Linked DNA regions of Homo sapiens: region 1 is linked to region 2. Evidence: promoter capture Hi-C in human tissues and cell types (Jung and others, 2019). All regions are on one chromosome and are shown on one strand. Each heading gives the region's core, a stretch centred on a gene start or on the middle of the fragment in contact. The rest is flanking DNA. Distances are from core to core; before and after follow the strand shown. Region 1 overlaps CACNG3 (calcium voltage-gated channel auxiliary subunit gamma 3). Region 2 holds the start of LCMT1 (leucine carboxyl methyltransferase 1).

What was found. The method cuts DNA at HindIII sites, captures the fragments that hold promoters and counts their contacts. A contact is called where the count stands out against the background at its distance.
Region 1: a fragment that was not itself captured here is called in contact with the fragment with the promoter of LCMT1 in region 2 in 1 of the 25 tissues and cell types used here (mesenchymal stem cells).

Annotation. Positions count from the first base shown.
Region 1 is chr16:24,324,760-24,329,696 of GRCh38, forward strand. All of the region lies in intron 1 of CACNG3 (calcium voltage-gated channel auxiliary subunit gamma 3), which reads left to right. Among named protein-coding and RNA genes, the nearest start is that of CACNG3, 71 kb to the left of the region's middle. The HindIII fragment of the contact is 3,212 bases long and covers 1-3,191 here.
Region 2 is chr16:25,109,150-25,114,212 of GRCh38, forward strand. LCMT1 (leucine carboxyl methyltransferase 1) reads left to right here and starts at 2,593. Exons shown (of 11, transcript NM_016309.3): 1 at 2,593-2,847. The coding sequence starts at 2,735. It overlaps LCMT1-AS1 (LCMT1 antisense RNA 1), which reads right to left and starts at 2,406. Exons shown (of 3, transcript NR_120306.1): 1 at 2,247-2,406. RefSeq lists enhancers at 2,016-2,543, 2,321-2,650, 2,741-2,900. The HindIII fragment of the contact is 11,844 bases long and covers 75-5,063 here.

The sequences.
Region 1 (4,937 bases), core at 336-2,835, 790 kb before region 2:
CTCTGCTGTTCCCTACTGGGTCTCTTCTGTTCCTCCATGCCCCAGCTTATGCTACTACAAGGCCAGCCCTTCCTCTTCCCTCTGCCTGCACTGCTTGCCCTGATTTGCAAGGGGGCTGTTTCTTTCCGCTTTCAACTCTCAGGCCACACAGCTCTCTCAAAGACCTCCTCCCTGCCTCATCACCCTGGGTCACTCTGAGCCCCTTATGTTGAGGGTCTTTTTAGCTCTGATTGCTGTTGGAAGTCATTTGTTCCATTGTCCTCCCCATCCCCTTTGAAGAACCAAGAGTGCTCTATGTCATGCCTGCGGAGCCACAGTGCCTGTAGAGATGCCAGGCACAGGGCAGATATTTACTGAGTGAAATGAATGAATGAATTTATGTTATGAGTTCTGTGTCTACTGGGGGAAGAGGGCAGGAATTTAATATCAGCCAATTCTTTAATCTTAGCCAATTCCTTCCCTTGAGGGGTGTCTAAATTCTGGGGGACAGCAGAGGTGGGTACATGTGGTCTGGATCATTGATCCATGACAGCATCTGCTGAGATGTTCTCATTCCCTGGGACAAAAGAAACATCATCAGGTACATGGGAACAAGGGTTAGGGGGACGTCAGTTAACATTCAGCAGAGTCACCCACCACCAACCTTTAGCCCACTCTATTCTCCCACACTCCTGAGATCAGAAACACTCGGGACCCTGGGAGCTCCCTTTCCCAAGTCCTAGGAGCCAGACCCCAGTGCTGGCGTACATCAGCTGGAATGCATTGCTGAGCGCAAGCCCCGCCAACCCCAGCGAGCTCTGCGGCTGGGAGAAGGTGCCCAGTACTGTTATGCAGCACGGGCTGGTGATTCACAGTTTATGAGCCGCCTCATACCCATCACTTTGATGCTCACAACAAGCCCGACAGGTAGGAAAAGTAGAGTTTATGAGCTTCTTTTCACAACTGTGGAAACCAAGATCACAAATGGTAATAATGTGAGTTGCTCAGGTTTGCAGAGCAGGCATGGAGGCAAAGCTGGGACTGGGAGACTATTACATGGTTAGAGCTTAATAAATGGTAGGTGCTGCTGTTCCAAACAGGTGAGGACTCTCAGTTTGTGAGGACTCTCAGTTGCAAAGTACAGAAATCCATTTCAAATAAGCGTAAGCAGCCACATAAGCTATTGGCTGATGGAACTGAAATACCCAAGGTTTACCTGTTTCAAGCATGGCTGGAGCCAGGGACTCAAATGATATTAGCAAGATTCAGATGGTCAACACCTCTCAGCTCTATTCTGAAATCTCTGCCTTGATTTCACCCTCAAGCTTGCTGTCTCCAACGTGGGGGGGTTGGGGGCTTGGCAACTGTAGCCCCAGCCCACTAGCTTAGCCACTCAATGGAAAATAACATTTTTCTTTTTTGTTTTTTCTTTTTTCTTTTTTTTTTTTTTGAGATGGAGTTTCGCTCTTGTTGCCCAGACTAGAGTGCAATGGCACAACCTCTGCTCACCACAACCTCCGCCTCCTAGGTTCAAGCAATTTTCCTCCCTCAGCCTCCCGAGTAGCTGGGATTACAGGCATGCGCCAGTAGGCCCGGCTCATTTTGTATTTTTAGTAGAGACAGGGTTTCTCCATGTTGGTCAGGATGGTCTCGAATTCCCGACCTCAGGTGATCCGCCCGCCTCGGCCTCCCAAAGTGCTGGGATTACAGGCATGAGCCACCACACCCGGCCAAAATTTTTCTTTCTCAACATTTCTAACCAATGTTCCAAGACTATCTTCACTGGACAAACTTGGTCACTTGCCCTCCCCTGAACCAATCACGCCAATCAAGGTGGTGAGACATGTTGATTGGCCAGATCTGGGTCATGTGCTCACCCTCTTAGCCAACCACTGTAGCCAGGAGAATTTAGAATTCTGATTGGCCAGGACTGAATCACATGCCCACTTCTGAAACTGACAATGGAGTCACCCTATGCTCACCTCACTCTCTGCACAGGCTGAAGAGGGAGAGAAGGCATTCCCTACAGTGGAATGAAGGTAGCCTTACCAGTGGAAGGGAGAATGGAAGCTCCTCTGGCAGCTAGAACAGATGTTCCCTCCAGATGCCTGGTACAGACCAGTAACCTTAGCCCCTTGACCAGAGAAACACGCCATGATCTCGCTCCCCTGCCACCTGATCCTGAACCAGTCTAGCTAATGACGCTAACTGGAGGCTCCAGGCTCGAGGCTCAGGCCAGAAACAGAGGCTGGCCTCTCCCTGCTAATGGCAGCAGGTGATGGGGATGAAGGAGGTGGCGGTAAATGTGATGGTAGCCTGGCTTCCTCCTCATGCAGAGAGGTGGAGTCCTAAGTCTCTAAGGAGTGGCCAAGGCAGGGGCTCCAAACCAAAAAAAAAAAAAAAAAAAAAAAAAAAGCCATAGCAATGAGAGAAGGAAGAGGAAAAGAAGACTTGGGCTCAGAGAGGCTCTGGAATAAAAGGAGAGTCTCAGGCAGTGAAGAGATGCCAATAAACAAAGCTTAAAGGACAGTTCATCCAGGCTGGGTGCTGTGACTGATGCCTGTAATCCCAGCACTTTGGGAGGGCAAAGTGAGAGGATCACTTGAGCCCTCACTTCGAACTCCTCACCAGGAGTTCGAAAGCAGCCTGGGCAAAATAAGAACTTGTTTCTACGAATATATATATGTGTGTGTGTGTGTGTATATATATATATATATACACACACACACACACACACACATATACTATGAATATATACATATATATATATATGGGGGGGCTGAGGTTGGGGGGATCGTTTGAGCTCAGGAGTTAAAGGATGCAGTGAGCTATGATTGTACCGCTGCACTCCAGCCTCAGTGACATAGTGAGAACCTGTCTCAAAAAAAACAAAAACAAAACAAAACAAAACAAAAAAAACAGGCCGGGTGCAGTGGCTCATGCCTGTAATCCCAATGCTTTGGGGGGCTGAGACAGGAGGATCGCTTGAGGCCAAGAGTTCAAGGCCAGCCTGGGCAACATAGTGAGACCACATCTCTACAAAAAATGAAAACAGTAATGGAGCATAGTGGTGAGCAACTGTAGTCCCAGCTACATGGGAGGCTGAGGCAGGAAAATCACTTGAGCCCAGGAGTTTGAGGCTGCAGTGAGCTATGATCATGCCACTGCACTCCTGAGTGTCACAGAAAGACCTTGTCTCAGACAACAAACAAAGTAAAAACAATTCAGACATGAAGGAAATACGCAGTACTCATCCCATACATTCATTTGTCCACTTGTTTATTTAACAACCTACTATGTGCCAGGTCCTGGGAAGACAGTGGTGAGCAAGACAGAGATGCTCTTGGGATTTACAATAGAGAGGAATAAACAGACACATCATTAAACTCATAATTAATCCTTTGTAATATGTGCCTGAAAGAGAAGCACAGGGTGTGGTGCTGTGAGGGCAGATTATTGGATGGCATCAGCCTGGGGACATATTTTTGGTAAGATCTGAAGCCCAGATAGAAATTACTCAAATGCAGGATGGAGAGGGAGAAATAATTGAGGCTGAGGGTGCTCGTGCAAAGGCCCTGAGGCAGGAAAGATAAAACAAAGCCTGTGCAGCAGAAATTTGGTGAGAAAGATCTGGAGAGGGGCTGGGGCCACATCACAGAGGATCTCGTAGGCCAGGTTAAGGACTTTTGTCACCATCCAACAAGAAGTTGCCCAAGATACCTGCAGACATATACAAAGGACAGTCTGATGTTCAGGGCACAGTTATAAAGCACCTACTGTGTATCAGATTGGGTGCAGGATATTTGGGATTCAGTGGTGCTTATAGTCTAGGAAATAAGAAGTCAGAAAATAAACTAGGCAATAAATATAAACAAGATATTTCGCATACTCACGGATCATCGTAAGCTTAGCAAAGAAAGTGACTGGAGATGTTCAAGTGAGGTGAGGACCTGACGGCCCCGTGAAGGGCTGGGAGAAAGTGGTCCAGGCAGAAAGAGCATCAGCTGCAAAGGCCTGGCAGCCATAAGACATGTACTCACCAGTGCACCCACACAGAGTCACATCCACAGGCGGGCATCGTGTGCCCATTTACATTCCTTGCTCTTCCAAAATGCGTCTGCGTCCACCTCTGATAACCTGGGATGCCCTCCACTCTCACCCCGACTTCATCACATACACACATACACCCTTTCGTAGGCTCACCCCACTCAGAGACAGCCCCCGCCACACCCCCATCATATGGCAACTAGCAAAGATCCTAAGGGCTGAGTGGGCAGGGAGAATGGGGATCTGGGGGAGGAGACACCGCCCTGTTTCCCTTCTTCACCCAAGAAGCCTGGGGGCAGCTCAGATTCGAGCAGGGGTGGGGGAACCACCAGGATGTCCATGCAAGTTGGAGGGAGGCGTCCAGGTCTTTACCTTGCAGAACTAAATCCCAGTGTGGTGTTTGCTCAAAACGCCAGAACTATTCCTGGATGTCAGGTGCAGTTAATGGTTGCCGTGGCAACCACCCATGCTTAATGAATAGAAGAGAGTAAAAGATGCCCCGGATAAATGTCAGGGCCCGGGATGGATTTGCTTGGGAGCAAATCTGTTAGTGCTGGGCAGAGCTGACCAGCGAAGGTTGAAATAAGCAGTCCAGGGTAGCTGGAGACAGATCCAGGAGGCTCTCTTCTCTTTCTCAGCTTAACATAGTCAGAATGCTAACGTTTCACAAAATGTCAAAAAGTGTGGCTCTTTATACAGACAGTTAAACATAGGCTCCAGTTTTGCAGGTTTGATTCTGCACATGTTTATGTAGTTTGCAGGGAACAGAAATCCAAGCCCAGGTCTCTCAGGAGTTGAGACGTCACTCTTTGTTTTTTTTCTTTAACTCTTCCTGCATTACCTTTTTTAATGAAGAAAGTGTCACATTAGGGTCAAAAATAATATTTTAAACTCTGAACCTCTACACATTA
Region 2 (5,063 bases), core at 1,343-3,842:
CAATGGCACGATCTCAGCTCACTGCAACCTCCACCTCCCGGGTTCAAGTGATTCTCCTGCCTCAACCTCCCTAGTAGCTGAGATTATAGGCGCCTGCCACCATGCCTGGCTAATTTTTGTATTTTTAGTAGAGACGAGGTTTCACCATGTTGGCCAGGCTGATCTCAAACTCTTGACCTCAGGTGATCCACCCACCTCGGACTCCCAAAGTGCTGGGATTACAGGTGTGAGCCACCGCGCCCAGCCCACTCTAGCTATTTTTTATAGAAGAAAGAGATACTGGAGAGCCAAAGCAACAATTGTCCATTGTAGCCTTTTGGGGAGAGATTCCATGGTGAATGCCTAACTTTTGGCCCACAATATTAATGTCCAAGAGCTTTTACACTTCCACAACTCTTCTCCTGACTTTGTCAAAAGATGCAGTCTAGTTGGCAGTGAACTTTCTCTGGCTGGGATATGGCTCAAAGACTACCCCAGCATTGTCTCTTGCATTAAGGTATCATTTAGCCTGAGATGGCTAAGCTTGCAATCTCCAGACTCCACGCTGTCATAAACTTTCAGATCCTCAACCAGGAACTTACATGGAATGAGCTGGCCCTGGAGGTCAGCTGGAAGATGGCCAAATTCCTCTGAATCACCAGCTATTTTGAATCAAAGGCTCATCCAACAACAAAAGTGTATAAACCCATCTGCCTCCGCCTTCTTCCAGTCACCCCCAGTCTCACTGTCCAGACCTGTGGGATTAACACCGTATAGTACTTGCTGTTAACACTTACTATCCACTAACACCCGTGGAATGTGGACACTGCTAAGCTGGGAGATGATGCTTGTGCAATAGTTTGTATTACCCTTTTGGCAAAGGACCACTCCAAGAAAATGGTGTATTTCATCCCATCAGCATTCCCCCTGGCAAAGCTCTCCACCCTTAGTCATTCCCCTCTTGTCATTTCTACTGTGGCTATCAATGAGATCTTGTGCCTCCATTAGAATACTGAGCTAGCATTTGATATTTGACCTCACTCCAAGGTGTGTATTCTGGGTTTCTGTTGTTGATTTTCTTTTTAAAAAAATGAGTGCAATTCAAAGTTCTTAAAGTATATCTGTTTCCTGCTTCCAACAACTGACAGATAACAAAATGGAATATACAAAGACATTTTTAATTTATAATGTATATTAAACATTATTATACATATACAACTTACAAGGGTTGCTTCTGGCTGGATTCTCTGCCAATCGCCCGAACACTGAGGATTCTGCTAGTTGTTCTGCCCTGAGTTAATTATAGCTATAAAATTTCATCACCAGCAAGAAACCAGGCGACTTCCCCAGTACATCTTGAATTTATACATATATTTTGTACTAGATTTAGTACAAAATAAATCCAAAACATCTTGAATATGCCTCATAATGAAACAGACACACGTGAACCCACTCCCACGTGAGAAACTGAGGATGTGTCTATGTGCTCCTTCCCTGCCTCTCCCTCCCCCTCTTGTGTGCTACCCTCCCGGCTCCCTAAAGATCACCAATATCCTGATTCTTTTTTATTTTTTTTTCTCATGTCTTGCCTTCTCTGTACAGTATTTTACCATATATGTACGTTTCTCTAAACAACATTAGTTTTACTTGGTTTGAACTTTACAAAAGTGTTGTTAGACTTCCTTCTTTCACTGAACATCGTGTTTCTGAGATTCAGCCATTGATGCTGCTACCTGGTAGCTCTAGTTCATTTATGATCGCTGCTACATGGCTTCCTATTGTATTACTTTTCCACACACTACTTCCCTCACTACATTTCTTTTCTTTCTTTCTTTTATTTATTTGTTTATTTATTTTTTTGAGACGGAGTCTCGCTCTGTCGCTCAGGACGGAATGCAGTGGCGCCACATGGGCTTACTGCAACCTCCGCCTCCCGGGTTCAAGCGATTCTCCTGCCTCAGCCTCCTGAGTAGCCAGGACTAAGGCGGCCGCCACCACGCCCGGCTAATTTTTGTACTTTTAGTAACAACGGTGTTTCACCATGTTGGCCAGGCTGGTCTCGAACTCCTGACCTCAGGTGATCGGCCCGCCTCGGCTTCCCACAGTGGTGGGATTACAGGAGTGAGCCACTACGCCCGCCCCCCTCACTACATTTCGAAGGCAATTTTGGGGGCAAAGCCCTCAGCACAGTCGCTGGCAGAGTCAGCACACAACAAAATTTTGTAAAATTGAATGACACTGAGCCCGGACTGAATGTAACAACTTACACATGTTGCTTCTGGCTGGATTCTCTGCCCTTTGCCCGAACGCTGAGGATTCTGCTAGCTGTTCCGCCCTGAGTTAATTATAGCTATAAAATTTCGCGACCAGCAAGCAGAAACCGGGCGACTTCTCCAGACACCTAAGACTACGCTTCCCAGAAAGGATTGCGATACTCTCCTACTGTTTAGTTTCTTTTTCCTATCGTCAAATTTCCGGGTTATGTGGGCGGTGCCAAAATAATTATCCAATGAGCAACTTCGTAGGCTGAGCGGGCAGGAGAATTGCTCAATGAGCGACTCGGAAGAGGAGCCAATAAGCGGAGAGGTTGCTGGGGTAGCCGGCGTGGGCGGCGTCACTGAGCCGCGCCAGCTGAGCCAGGTAGGGCCCTACCCTCTTCTGTTGCTTTCTCCCTGTGGCTCGCGCCGTCCCCCGCCGCCCGTCGACCCCGCTTCCATGTCCCTGGCGGACACAGCTCCCAGGAACCTCCACGCCCATGGCCACTAGGCAGAGGGAATCCTCTATCACCTCCTGCTGTTCCACCTCGAGCTGCGACGCAGACGACGAGGGCGTGCGCGGCACCTGCGAAGATGCTTCCCTGTGCAAGAGGTGCCTGTCGGGCGCGGGGTTCGGGGCCGGCATCTGGGGCGCGGGCCTAGGTGGGAGGTGGGCCTGCATCTGAAGAATACGCTCAAGGCTGGCAGGGATGCAGCCCCCGCCTCGCACGACCCTCGCTTCCCACCTGTGAAGTGCACGGAGCAGGGCTTCATTTATTTAACGAATCGTTTCTGAGCTTTTGCTGTGAGCCAGGCAGGGGGCCAGCCTGGGTATCGTCGATGGGAGCAGGCCCCTGAGCCAGACAGACGAGGCCTTGGGCTTCTTGGAGCTAAACGCTGCTGGAAAGACAGACATGAAGCAAATAGTAGCTCCAGCCTCGATGGGTTACGAGGATGAGAGGTGTAGGTTCTCTCTCTTTTGTAGGTTGCATTCTTTAGGGGGTTGGTGTGATCCCTGTTGTGCACCTGAAACTCAGGATGACGAGGGGAAATAACCCACCCAGAGCCAAGTAATATCTCTTTGCAGAGCCAGTACCGCACTAAGTCTCCACTGTTAAGGGTGTGGTGGTGGGGATGGGGGCGTAGCCAGCAGAGGTACGTGTCAGAGAAAGAGAAAGCTTGAGGCTTGAATGTCCACCATTTATTCTTTCATTCAACAAAATTTTTTGAGACCTTACTTTGTGCCAGGCCTTTACTTTGCAGTGGTTAGTAGGAATTCGATGGTGGAAATACACCAAGAACAAGACAGACATGGTGTCAGACATACTGGAACTCACAGCTTTGTTGGAAAAGAGAGACAGGAAGCAAATAATTACCTATGAAATATATAATTATGATTTTTTTGTGTTGAGTGCTGACAAATACGGCAGTGCCATTAGAGTTTGTAATTTTGTCAGTGATGTTTAAGGTGAGAAGAGTTTGGGCGCGGTGGTTCACGCCTGTAATCCCAGCACTTTGGGAGGCCGAGGTGGGCAGATCACGAGGTCAGGAGTTCGAGACCATCCTGGCCAACATGGTGAAACCCCATCTCTACTAAAAATACAAATATTAGCTGGGTGTGGTGGCGGGCGCCTGTAATCCCAGCTACTCGGGAGGCTGAGGCCGGAGAATCATTTGAACCCGGGAGGCAGAGGTTGCAGTGAGCCAAGATCACGCTATTGCACTCCAACCTGGATGAGAGTGCGAGACTATGTCTCAAAAAAAAAAAAAAAAAAAAGTGAGAAGAAAAGGCTTGAAAAATAGGAAAGTTGTAGGAGAGTGTTCAGAGGAGTGTGAACTGTTAGAGGAACTCAAAAAATGCTTTAAAGGTGGGAGAAGGAGGCTGAGGCCACGTAGTGATTGTAGAGTGGGGAAAACCAGTGTGTTGGATTAAACCTTGCACTTTTTATAGGTTCTTGGGGACTAAACTTTCAGAGCATGGATTCTGGAGCTAGACTCTGTCAAACTGAGCGTTGCCACTTACTGGCAGTATAAAGTCGGGGAAATTACTAAACTTTTCTGTGGCTCAGTTTCCTGATCTGTAAAATGGGGAGTATAATAACGCATCATAGGTGGGTGTGGACAAAAATGATATTTAATATTAGTAGAGCACTTGGAGCAGTGTCTGGCATGTAGTCCATGTAAGTGGTGATTGATTAAATTAATAAATACACAAGTATTAAAGTCTTAGAGAGAGTCCCTTATGAAATTTGTGAATTTGAGTGGATTATACTCAGCTTTTTCTTCTGTGGCTTTCAGTTGCTATTGGCCACAGCTGTCTTGGCTCCTGGTAACTTCCACCTGCCGGGTTCAAGTGATTCTCCTGCCTCAACCTTCCAAGTAGCTGGGATCACAGGCACACACCACCATGCCCAGCTAATTTTTGCATTTTTAGTGGAGACAGGGCTTCACCACGTTGGCCAGGCTAGTTTCGAACTCCTGAACTCAAGTGATCCGCTCGCCTTGGTCTCCCAAAGTGCTGGGATTACAGGCATGAGCCACCCCACCCAGCCTAGTCTTTTCATTTTTAAAACAGTGATAATAAAGGTAACCTTTATGGGTGTCAGGATTAAATGAGATTATCGATGCAGAGGATCTGACACAAAGTGAAGCCCTCAGTAAATTATTATTGCTAGTTTTGACTTCCCTCCAGGCTGAATATTGTTTAGTTAAAGTTGCTGAATGTGCAGTAGCTATGAGTTAGGGTGGTTCCTGCTGCCCTGAGTGAGTTATGGCTATAAAATAAAAAGCCAGTCAGCCTTCTGGGTACCTGTAAATCTTTTACTTCTG